Linked DNA regions of Homo sapiens: region 1 is linked to region 2. The links are contacts of gene promoters, found by promoter capture Hi-C in human tissues and cell types (Jung and others, 2019). All regions are on one chromosome and are shown on one strand. The core of a region is centred on a gene start or on the middle of the fragment in contact, and the rest is flanking DNA. Distances in the headings are between cores, read along the strand shown. Region 1 has its middle 80 kb from the start of LAPTM4A-DT. Region 2 holds the start of MATN3 (matrilin 3).

The links. Contacts are between HindIII fragments. The study calls those that stand out against the background at their distance.
Region 1: a contact is called between a fragment that was not itself captured here and the fragment with the promoter of MATN3 in region 2, in 2 of the 25 tissues and cell types used here (adrenal gland and mesenchymal stem cells).

What each region holds. Positions count from the first base shown.
Region 1 is chr2:20,128,872-20,134,917 of GRCh38, reverse strand. No RefSeq gene overlaps it. Among named protein-coding and RNA genes, the nearest start is that of LAPTM4A-DT, 80 kb to the right of the region's middle. The HindIII fragment of the contact is 5,540 bases long and covers 1-5,242 here.
Region 2 is chr2:20,010,019-20,016,168 of GRCh38, reverse strand. It overlaps MATN3 (matrilin 3), which reads left to right and starts at 3,501. Exons shown (of 8, transcript NM_002381.5): 1 at 3,501-3,760. The coding sequence starts at 3,538. RefSeq lists an enhancer at 3,785-4,397. The HindIII fragment of the contact is 8,921 bases long and covers 1-6,150 here.

The DNA.
Region 1 (6,046 bases), core at 1,223-3,722, 120 kb before region 2:
AATCAAGGTAGAAGCCAGAACTCACTCCCCACCCTCCTCAGGGGGCAGTCATTATGACCAATGTCCCTACGTGAGACTCGTAGGGGGTCCTCTATAGAGAATGGGGTGGCGGAGGTCTCTGGCCCTTCAGGGCAACGGTGGCAGAGTTCTGGGGTCACACTGGAGCAGAGCTTTCTGGGGTCGGGGGGCAGCCTCTGCTGTGAGTCTTAGGTATTATTCTTAGCTCCGTGGCATCCAAGTCTGACTCTTTGGTCTCCTGGAGATCCCATGAGCTTCAAAATGCCTTTCAATAACTTGCTTTTCTGTGAAAACTAGCTGGAGTGAAGCCCTACCACTCTTAGAAAAACTCACCAGGCAGAAAGGATGGGAAAAGCAATCCTAGCAAAGAGTGGCAGTTCTTAACCCTTTAAGCCAGCTGGGCACTTATAAACGTGCCCACACCCAGCATCCTGCTTGCTTTGGGCATAACCCACATCTGAGTCGTTAGGGTGGCTTTAAATTCTGCAATGTTATGGGATTACACTTTTCTGTAATATTTGCATGAATTGGCTTGGGTCCCTATCACACATGAGGTGAAGATCCCAAGATGTTTTCCCTTCCCATGTCTTCAGGGGGTCTAGGGGACAGTGAGTTTTATTCAGGTCTCTTCTCTCTTCTTTGCTGTGCTTCTGCTTGTTCTCTTCTTGCTCTCTGTACAGTGTCGCCCTCCACCAGACACACCCGAGGTCCTTTATTCCCTAAAGGACACCAATGAAAGGCTGAGTGTTGAAATCTGGGAGCCAGAAAGTGGGGTGAGTGATACCACAAAACAGCACAGCAGACCATCTCTTTTTTCTTTTAAGATTTTATTGTAGGATATATCACACACAGAAAAGTGCATGAAACATAAATGTACACTTTAGCAAATCGTTATAAAGTAAAGACCTATATAACAGTCACCCAACTGAAGAAATAGGCTATTGCCAGCGCTCCAGGACCCTCCCATGTGCCCCACTGTAAACAGTCTTTACAGTGACATGTTTCATACATTCAGAAGAGTGTATAAAACAGATACAACTGAATGAATCTTCCAAAAAGGAACACCGTGTGCCCATTAAATATGGTATTACTAATATCTAAGAAGTCTTTTTTTTTTTTTTCAATGGAGTGTCACTCTGTCACCCAGGCTGGAGTGCAGTGTTGCGATCTTGGCTCACTGCACCCTCTACCTCCCGGGTTCAAGCGATCCTCACACCTTAGCCTCCTGAGTAGCTAGGATTATAGGTGTGTGCCACCACGTCTGGCTAATTTTTTTTCTAACAGTTTACAAAAGTCCTTTCTGGGGACATCACTGGACAAGACCATGAGTGAGCCTAGGGAAACACAGGCTCCCTATAACTAAGGCATCGGGCAGGGCTGTGATGTGAGCCAGATACCGGACACCTGGCAAGAGGAGGGAGCTGTTTGGTGTTTTTTCCTTCTAAGCTCACTATGGCCCACATCCAGTTCTCAGGAGCAGGGCAGATCACACTGAGGTGGGGGTGGCAGCAGGCAAGGAGGGGTGGGCACAGACTGCACAGCACATGGTCAAGACAAGGCAAGGGCAAATCAAAACTGGGGCCAGGCTCACCGGAGCCTCCTGTCCTCAGGTTGGAAAGACTGTCCGGTGGCAGTGACGCTGCGACAGCCCTCGATGTACCTCTTGCTGGCATTGTGCCACCCCCTCGGGGACCAGCTGCCCTCCCTGTCTTGTGCAGTGCTGTCCTCCTGCACTACCCTCCTACGGACTGCTCCTTGCCTCCTCTCCATGCTGGCTGTGCCGTTTCCTATGTCCTGTGTCTTCCCTTCTGTTAACTCTCAGTTTGGAGGAGCACATTCTCCAGTAGCTTCTTGAGAAATGTTGCATGGGAGGAAATTTTCTTGCAATATCGCACGACTAAAAGTGTCTTTAGCCTCATACATAATTAGTATTTGGCTGGATAGAGGAGTCGGCTTGGAGAGCGTGTCCCTCCAGCATTTTGGGTTTGCCTTTGCTGTCTTCTTGTGTCCCAGCGCTGCTGATGAGTTATCAGAATCATTCCGAGTCCTCATCTTTTGCATGTCACCTGTTTTCTGCCCCATCTGAAAGCTTGTGGAATTCCATTGTCCCCAGCTGCCTGAAATTTCACAAAGATATGCTTGGCATGGGCCTGTTTTCATCCCTTGCCTGGCTCTTTTTTCTCTGTAATTTCTGTTATTTCCATATTAGATCTCCTGGGCTAAGCCTCCAATATTTTAAATCTTCTCTCCTACTTTCCATCTCTTGTTTTTTTTTTTTTTCTTCCTGATTTCTAGGAGATTTCTTCAACTTTATCTTGCATACCCTCTGATGTGGTTTGGGTCTGTGTCTCTGCCCAAATCTCATGTTGAATTGTAATCTCCAATGTTGGAGGTGGGGCCTGGTGGGAGGTGACTAGATTATGGGGGTGGATTTCTCCTGAATGGTTTAGCACCATCCTCTTGGTGCTGTCCTCATGACAGTGAGTGAGTTCTCCTGAGACCTTGTTGTTTAAAAGTGTGTGGCACCTCCCCCTTCTCGCTCTTGCTCCTGCTCTGGCCATATGACATGGCTGCTCCCACTTCACCTTTCTCCATGATTGGAAGCTTCCTGAGGCCTCCCCGGAAGCAGATCCTGGAGCTCTGCTTCCTGTACAGCCTGCAGAACCATGAGCCAATTAAACCTCTTTTCTTATAAATTCCCCAGTCTCAGGTATTTCTTTATAGCAATGTGAGGATGACATAATACACCTTCTACTGTGGCTGCCATGTTTTTCATTTCCAAGAGTGTTTTACTTTTATTCTCAGCATATTCACTTTTCCTGTCTTCTAGGGTGGGGCTTGCCAACCTTTGACTTCATGGGGGAGTGGTCTGGATGTGTCGTTTGTCAGAGATCCCCCCATATCAGGATTTAGTCTTCCTTTTGAGTTGCCCAGACTATTTAGAGAAGATTGTTCTAACTCCTGCTTTGAGAGGAAGGCTGCCTTGTGTTTTGGGTGTTTAGAGTCAGAGTCCGGGGTGGGGTCTCCATAGGCATATGACCCAGAATCTTCCTGCCTTCTGGGCAGTAACCACTCACAGTAATTTTCCAGTGGGGAAGGGGAGGGGACAGGAGGGTTTCCAGGCATCTGACTGCTTCTTAAACAACTTTCAACCCATCCTTATTTCAACTTCCTTCTTTACCCAGCTTAGAGAGGTTCCCTCTAGAGTCAGTTCCTGAGACTTCTAAGCATCCTGCTTGTAAATGGTTTTGATTCTAAACTCTCCCCACTGCTGGCCTAGGAACTGGCTTTCTCCATCTGCGTCGGAGAATGCTCATCTGCCAGCTTCCCATGTTTTGCTCCTGTTTTCTCCTCTTCTGTTTCCCTCATTTTTGTGGTTTTATGTCTTCCTTTTAAAGTTCTCTATTATTGTTCTAGTGAGATTTGGGGAAAAATGCAATTAGATGTGTGTTTAGGCTGCCACTTTAACTTGAAAACCTCAAATATTCCTCTTCTGAAAGTCCCCCAGCCACTTCCTGAGAGTAGGAATTTCACGCCAGCCCTCTCTTCTCAAATGCCAGCTTCCCTCCGTGTGGCTTGGATGCCTCAAACTCAACACCCTCATCGCCTTCATTTCTGTCTTCCTCACAGAGGCCCCGCAGCTCCGTGTGAGGCCTGCACACAGGAGAGACAAAGAGACATGAACTGGGAGACTCCAGAGGAGGTGTCTGTGCTGGGAAGAGAGACGACAGGGCCTGGGGCTGCTGCCTAGCTGGGGAAGAGCTGGGCCCCAGGTGAGGGCTTCTGGGCCCTGGCTCCGATCTGACCCAGGCAGACTCACAGACAATATCAATGTCCTGTGGTTTATGCCAGGATACAGAAAGTACGGGATAGAGCAGGAGCCCAGAGGAGGTGTGACTCACCCAGCTGGGAGACTTCGGGGAGAGCAGGGAAAGGTAAAGTGTCCTGGACTAAACTGGGCCTTGAAGAATGAGAAGCTCTTGGCCAGGTGGAGAAAGTGAGGAAAGGGGTGTTTCAGGCAGGCAGTCCACTGACCTATGTATGGTACCTCTGCAAATTAGACAAAGGTGTCCCCTCTGGGTAAATGTAGACAGTGACAGAGAGGCCTGCATGTGCGAAAGCTTGGTGTGCTCTGTGGCAGGCAGGAGAATGACCCTCGAAGAAGTACAAGCCCTAATCTCTAGACCCCGAGAATCGGCCTGTGGATGTGATGAAGGACCTCGAGATGGAGCGCATATCCTGGATTATCTGCGCAGGTCCTGGGTAATCACCAGGGCCCTTCTAAGAGGGAGGCGGAGAGAGAGGTCAGTGTCAGAGAGAGATGTGACGATGGGAGAAGAGGTCAGAAAGAGATTGGAAGATGCTACTCAGTGGCTTTGCAGATGCAGGGAGGGGGCATGAACCAAGGAATCGGGAGGCTTTTTGAAGCTGGGAAAGGCAAGGCAATGGATTCTTTCTTGGAACCTCCAGAAGGAATGCAGCCCTGCTGGCACCTTGACTTTCATCCTTTAAGACCCATGTCTGGACTCCTGACCTCCAGAACTGTAATATAATACATCTGCGTTGTTTCGAACCTGTAAGTCTGTGGTAGTTTGCTGCAGCAACAACAGGAATTAATACTCAGGCCCTGGTGCTTTCAGGGAAGGGCTGTGGCCAATGTGCCTGGGGCCTGGGGTGGGAGAGGTGGAGTGGGGACAGATGAGGCTGGACAGATAGGCAGGGGATACACAGGGCCTTCCAAGTCACAGCAAAGAATTTGCCCTAGCCAAGGCAGTCCAAGTGAGACAGGAGGAAGAGGGGAGCAGTATTTTGGGGGGATCCGTGCTGTGGAAGATGGTCTGGTGGGAAGTGGCTGGGGCACACTGACATTGGGGAGCTGCTGTAGGTGCAGCAGAAGGTGACATGGCCTGGACCCAGCTAGTGGCAATGCGGGAAGGCATAGCCTGCCTGAGAGCTGAAACACAGCAGAGGGCAAATTCCTCTTCTCCCCTGCCCTTGTTTTTTTTCTTCCTGCCTCACCCAGCTATGGTGCCAAAGGCTCCAAAGGGCCACCTGAGATAAGGTAATGATTTTGGAGGAAGAGTAAATTCTGGGGAATGTTCCCAACGGCTCAACTGGGAAAGGACAATTGACTTCCTATGTGTGCACAGCTATTCATGCACACTCACACCAACGACACACACACACACACACACACACACACACACATGAGGGGTTCTAGCATGCCCGTGGCCTTTCTCCTCATTGGCCTTCTCCCTCGCGGGGCCAGGGAGAGGCTGCTCACCCTTGGCAGTCCCAGGAGCCCGAGGTGCGGCCCAGGGGGCATGTCTGATGTCAGGCCTCCAACAGTGACTCCCTTTTGGGGCCAACAGGTGAGGGAGACAGGAGGCGGGAGTCAGAGGACTGAACCCTGAGTGGGGAGGCACAGGGCACACTGCCAACCGACTCTTCAATCACACCTGTGATCACAGCAGAGGCGAAACTCTGGTCACTTCATCAGAAAGATCAAGATTGCAAACCACAGCACCTGGTGTGTGCACACCCTGCACCCTTCACTCAATCTCCAGCCACTCTGAACCACCTGTAGCTCTCTGAATGCCACCCGTTTCACCTGTCTCTTTCTCTGTCTGGGCATCTTCTCTCCCTTCTGGTCTGCCTGGTTATCTCCTCCTGATTGTTCAGGTCTCACATCAATAAATTCCTTTTCCGCGGGGACTGGCTGGGACTGGCTGAGGTTCAGTGCATGGACCCTGGAGCTAGTCAGCCCTGCAATGAGTGCAGCCCTGCTGCCCACCAGCTGTGTGGGGCAGTCAGGGCTCCTCCCTGGGCAAGAGACAAAAAACCCAACCCACACTGGCTTAAGCAAAAACAGTATGTATTGGCTTATGAACCTGAACAACCCCAGGATGGACTTCAGGCAAGGGTTTATCCAGGACTCAAACGAAGAAACCTGGGCCAGGTTTCCTACCCTCCATTTTTCAGCCCCATTTCCCTGGTGCGAGCTCCATTCTCAGATACACTCTGTCCA
Region 2 (6,150 bases), core at 2,252-4,751:
TTTGTTGTATTTCTTAGATTTTTGAATAGTTCAAAAAACCTCTGTTTGGCTTTTTTATGACCTAAGTCTTTAGGTTATCAAAAAGTTATTCTAGTCTTTATCTTGACAAAGTAGTATAAGATAATATGCAGTGGTAGAGAAATATAGCTTTTGCAATATTCCCAAGTAAACACCTGAAAGCAAAGTTACCACCTGGTCCAGCAGCCAGTTGAGTTGGTGACATGCAAGAAGGCCCTACAGCCACCTGAATTCCTCTGTCAGAAGAGCTACCTTTGTTTTATTTGACAATCTTTGGACATCAGATGTAAGACAACCGCCCTGGAGTGTGAACTCTGGAGATACAAACTTATCAGACAATTTCTATTTCATTCAAGATGGCATGACTTTCATACACCAGCATCTGAAATTGTCTGAGATACTGACAACGAATGTGTAGGGACATTCACCAGGGAGCTGAGATTTTTATTTTGAGCTCTTTAAAACAGTGCCCCCCAGTGGTATGCAATAGAAAAAAAAAATCACAAGATTAATATATCCACATTGTTGGTGCAAACAGAACCCATTCCTGCTAGAATGAGCTGAAAAAGAGGCTAAGCATGGTGGCTCACATGTATAATCCTAGCACTTTGGCAAGCTGAGGTGGGAGGATCACTTGAGCCCAGGAGTTCAAGATCAGCCTGGGCAACATAATTAGACCCTGTCTCTATAAAGAATAAAAAAAAATTAGTTGGGCGTGGTGGTGCACACCTGTGGTCCCAGCAACTCGGGAGGCTGAGGCAGGAGGATTGCTTGAACCTGGAGGATTGCTTGAGCCCAGAAAGTTGAGGTTGCAGTGAGCTCTGATGACACCATTGCACTCCAGCCTGGGTGACAGAATGAGACCCTGTTTATAATAATAATAATAAAGAAACAGAAAAAGTATATATTAAGGGTATTATTTGTCCCACTACTAGCTCAAAGTACAAATGGAAAAGCCAACCATTCCTCAAGAAACATCACTCCCCAGTTGAAGTGGAATTCCAAATGTTATAATCAATATGTGTTGACTACGAATGTGAATAGTGCCCCTGTGAACTTGTGCAATGTACACCTACACCATCCATATGTAGCCCTGGATATTAAGTGGTTCAAATAATTTCTGGAAAGGTTCAAGAATCAAGCTTGGAAGCCACACAGTCATCAACCATTCCCAAAATTATACTGCAGGTTTGCTATATGGGAGACCTAGAGTCACTGCTGCTTGGCATAGACACCACATATGATCGATGAAGACTGGGCCACTTATGTACATCCTAGCTGCAAGAGATGCTGGGGAAGCAAGTTCTTGGAGTCAACTTGGGGAGGTGCTGACTCATGAAGTTGGAAATCCCTAAATTTAGGAAGGTATTTGTGATGGTGAATTTTAATGTGTCATCTTGACTGGGCTAATGGATGCCCAGATAGCTATTAAATATTATTTCTGGGTGTGTCTGTGAGGATGTTTCTGGAAGAGATTAGCATTTGAATCGGTAGACTGAGCAAAGAAGATCACCTTCATCTATGTGAGTGGAGTGGGCATCATCCAATCTGTTGAGGGCTTGAATGGAGCAAAAAGACAGTGGAAGGCAAATGTGTTCTCTGCTGGAGCTGGGCCAACCAGCTTCTCCTGTCCTTGGACATCAGCATTCCTGGTTCTTGGGTCTCTGGACTCAGATTGGGCCTTATGTCATTGGCTCTCCTGCTCTTGGGCCTTCAGGCTTGGACTGGATTACACCACTGGCTTTCCTGGGCCCCCAGCTTGCAGACAGCAGACTGTGGGACTTCTCAGCCTTCATAATCGCATGAACCAATCCCTCATAATCTCAATTACTCCCCCCACCCTCTCTCTATATGTATGTGTATATAAAATTTATTGGTTTTGTTTCTCTCAAGAACCCTGACTAATGTAGGGTTCAAAGGCTTTGGGGATCATTCTAAAAGCAAGACGAAAGACAAATGTCCACCAGAGCTTGCAAATACTGTATTTATCAATCCCTCCTCTTCTTGGCATAGTTTCTTTCAAACTTCTTAGTGTCCTCTTCCCATTATTACAAACTTCTCGTTTCTTCTAAGGTCCTTCTAAATTGGTGAGTTCTCAGTGGGAGTTGAGTGACCTTTTCCCTCAGTGTGACTATCACTGCCCAATGTCATTGATACATTATACAACTCCCCATCCCCACTTCCCCTCAGCTCCTGTTAACCACCATTCTTTCTGTCTCTATGAATTTGACTACTCTAGATTCCCCATGTAAATGGAATCATACAGTATTTGTCTTTTTGTGACTAGCTTATTTCACTTAACATAATACTCTCAAGGTTCATCCATTTTGTAGCATCTGCCAAAATTTCCTCCCTTTTAAGGCTGAACAGTATTCCATTGTACGTAGATACTGCATTTTGCTTTTCCATTCACACAAAGAGAGACACTTGGGTTGTTTCCGCCTCTTGGCTATTGTGTATAATGCTGCTACCAGCATGGGGTACAAATATGAGAAGTGAGGTTTAGGATCGTGTGAGGAGGATCACTTGTAGAGGGAAAATAGTGAAATAGGACGACCAGATAGGCTCTGTTGGAACTCGCGCCCATTGTTTTAAGACGCAGCTCAAATGTCACCTGGTTTTAGAAGTCTTCCTGGTCTCCGCAGGCAGTCAGTATCTCTTTCCTAAATCCACCACATTCCCGTAGACAGACACCACATTTATGCAAATCTCCTTCTCACAGACAGTGAGTTCCATGGGGGTCCCCTGGCAGCCTCCAGCCCTGTACCATGCTAACTCTTCCGGAGAGGAAATGGGGCCTCGGGAGAGCCTTTGAAGCCTGTGTTGGTACAGGCTGTCCTTCCAGCTAACGGGGCTCTCTGGGGAATGTATGTTTGACTTTCTATTCCCGGTAATATAAGTTCAAATGTTTGTGGATATTTGAAGCTCGGATGAAAGCGTTTCTATTCATGCCCCTAGAATCTGTGAGGCCTTTTCTTTCTTTTTTTTTTTTTAAACAAGAGCCCACAGCAAAACTTGGGTTACTTGGCTGAGGAAAGGAATGTAGAGCTAGGAGCAGGGTTTCATCTTCAGCCCCAGTCGGGCAAACCAGTGGCAGAAGGGAAAGCAGAGCCCAGGGGTCCCCATCCCGTACCTGGGGCGCAGGCCCCGCTGGGGTGGGAGGGAGAGTGGAGGGCCGGGCAGGCTGCAGCCGCGGATGGCTGCCCCCCCTGCCCCGGTGTTACTGGGAGGACGGAGGTTGCGACAGCAGCCGAGCCCACCCAGTTGCAGCCGGCTCGGGGCTTAGGGCAGGGGCGGGAGGTGACCACCGCGCCGCTGGCCGCCTCGCCCAGACATTCCGTTTCTGCCGCTGGAATGCGCGGACAAGGCTCCTTGTTGGCCTTGGGCGGGGTTCGCCGGGCCGGCCTGGCGCTCGAGGCCCCGGGGCGGGGCGGGGCCCGAGGCCGCGGGACCTTTAAATCCGAGCCTCGCGTGGGCTCCTGGCCCCCGACGGACACCACCAGGCCCACGGAGCCCACCATGCCGCGCCCGGCCCCCGCGCGCCGCCTCCCGGGACTCCTCCTGCTGCTCTGGCCGCTGCTGCTGCTGCCCTCCGCCGCCCCCGACCCCGTGGCCCGCCCGGGCTTCCGGAGGCTGGAGACCCGAGGTCCCGGGGGCAGCCCTGGACGCCGCCCCTCTCCTGCGGCTCCCGACGGCGCGCCCGCTTCCGGGACCAGCGAGCCTGGCCGCGCCCGCGGTGCAGGTACAGGCGGGCGGCGGGAGGGACGCGTGAGCATCGAACGAGGAGAAGCCCAGGGCATCCACCAAGCGCGCTTCATCCCGGCCTCAGGCCGACCGTGGTGCGGGGGAAAGAGGCCCCTCCCGGATGAATCCTGTGGGGGAAACTGAGGTCCAGAGAAGGGGAGGGAGATGCCCAATATCACTCATGTGTCCAGGCTAGAGATGTGGGTCTCCTGAAGCTCTCACTCCCCTGTGATTCGGCCAGGAGCACAGGGCAGCTGGGGAGCGCAGGGGCTGCTGCCCAGCGGCTGCTGCTAAGCTCCGTCCCAGTCCTGACCTCTCCATTCAGTGAGCAAACCCTTCCTGAGACTCTGCTGTTAGTTCTCTTGGAATCTCTCCATCTCCATCCAATATCAGGGCGTGATCTTTCCTCCCCTCCCACAGTCCTCAGGCTGCCTCAGACTGGAAGGTAAGGGATGCGGGTGTGAGACCAGGAGGAGATCCGAGGAGCCGTAGGATACCCCAGGATCAAGACACTCTGGGTCTTTGGCGAACAATTCTATTTCTCTTTTTGGTCAGCAATTGATTCCTGAAGCAGAGCAAAGCTCATAGTGCAGCGAAGCGGGCAGGTCGTCTGACACAGCCCCTGACAGCACATGAAGGGAAACTGAGGCATATCAAGTTGAAGGGACTCTGTGAATCAGTATCAGAGGCCACAATAAAATTCAGGGCTCCGAAATCCCAAGCAAGGTCTCTTTCCACTGCCCCAGCCTACCAACCTCTTAATATGGTTTACATAAGATTGTATCTTCATTTCCAAAAAGCGCAGCTTCAGTCTTGCTAAAAAGAGTCTGTGCCAGGCCATTTCTGGGTATGCAGTCTCATTTGGCCAGCCACGCTGCATGCCTCAGGCTGATTTCAATTGTCTATCCCCTTCTGCATCTTTCTGGATAAGCTGAGAAGGAGCTCAAGGGACTCTTTCCTGACTCAAATACTCAGTCCCCGTATTTGAAGTGGCAGATTTGAAATGGCAAAAGCATTGCTGCTAAGGCAGGAGGTACCGGGGTCCACAGGGCTAGATTCAGCTGGTGGCTGGTTGCTCCAGGCCGGGAATTGAGGGAAAGCCTTTCTTCTGGAAGTTAATCTTACTCTAGTCCTGACCTGCCTCCCTCTGGGATGGGACTGGAAGAGGAAGGAGAGATTCAGCACCAGGTGGCCATGTCCCCCTAAGCTTTACTGGTCTTTCATTACCTAGAGTCCGAACCTGATCATGAATGATAACCCATTAATAAATGCGAGATTCCACCCTGTTCCAAATTATCTCCTTTTAGCAACCAGAAATTGCTAAGCTTCGCTATGGATTTTTATTTCTAGCAGGACTGTAAGGACTCAGTGGTATTATGAGTATGGGAACATTTTAGGAGATTCAGATTCTTTCTTTGTTCTTGGGAATCAAATTGCTGCTATTTAGTAAATGGGAGTGAGATTCAAAAACAACTAATGATTGATGCGGAGTACCAGTCAGGAAGGAACCAGATGTTCACAGAATTTTCTGCCACCATGGTCAAGCCTCAGGTATTAGTTTTCTATGGCCACTGTAACAAATTACTGTGAATTTAGTGCCTTAAGACAACACACATTTATTACCTGAGAGTTCTGTGGGTCAGAAGTCTGACCCTGGTCTCACTGGGCTAAGATGAAGGTGTCGGCAGGGCTGTGTTCCTTTTGGGAGGCTCTAGGGGAGACTGCATTTCCCTTCCCTTTCCACCGCATGAAGGCTGCTGAGTTCCTTGGCTTATGGCCTTTTTCTTCCATTTTCAGAGCCAGCTAAAGCAGGTTGAGGCCTTCTCCCATTGAGTTACTCACATTTCTTTCATCTGCCTCCCTCTTCTACTTTATAATTACATTGACTCACTGAATAATCCAGGATAACCTCTTGTGTAGAGCTCTTTGACTTAATCACACCTGCAAAGTCTCTGCTCTTTGCCACGTAAAAGTAACATGTCTCTGGAATTAGGACGTGGACGTCTTTGGCGGGGGACATTATTCTGCATACCACACCCCGAATAGAGGATTCGGTGTGAATAACCAAGTGGAGAAGGAAAGAATCATGCACGTTTAGTTATAAGAACATAGCCATGATATTTATAAGGACACCATTTGGGTGCTGGTGAAAGCACTGTCAATTACAGAGTTCATATCTTCATGTTACCCCCACCTTTTCTTTTTCTAATTATACAAAAATACTTTGACCCATCTCCAGGAAAGATTTTCAACATAATTCTTCTTCCTAGCTCTAGATCTATGGGACTTTCCAGGAATGAAGTAAAATTCTGGAGGTTTTTTTTTTTTTTTTTTTTTTTAGTATTTGAAGAGATTTATTCTGAGACAAACATGAGTGACCATGGTCTG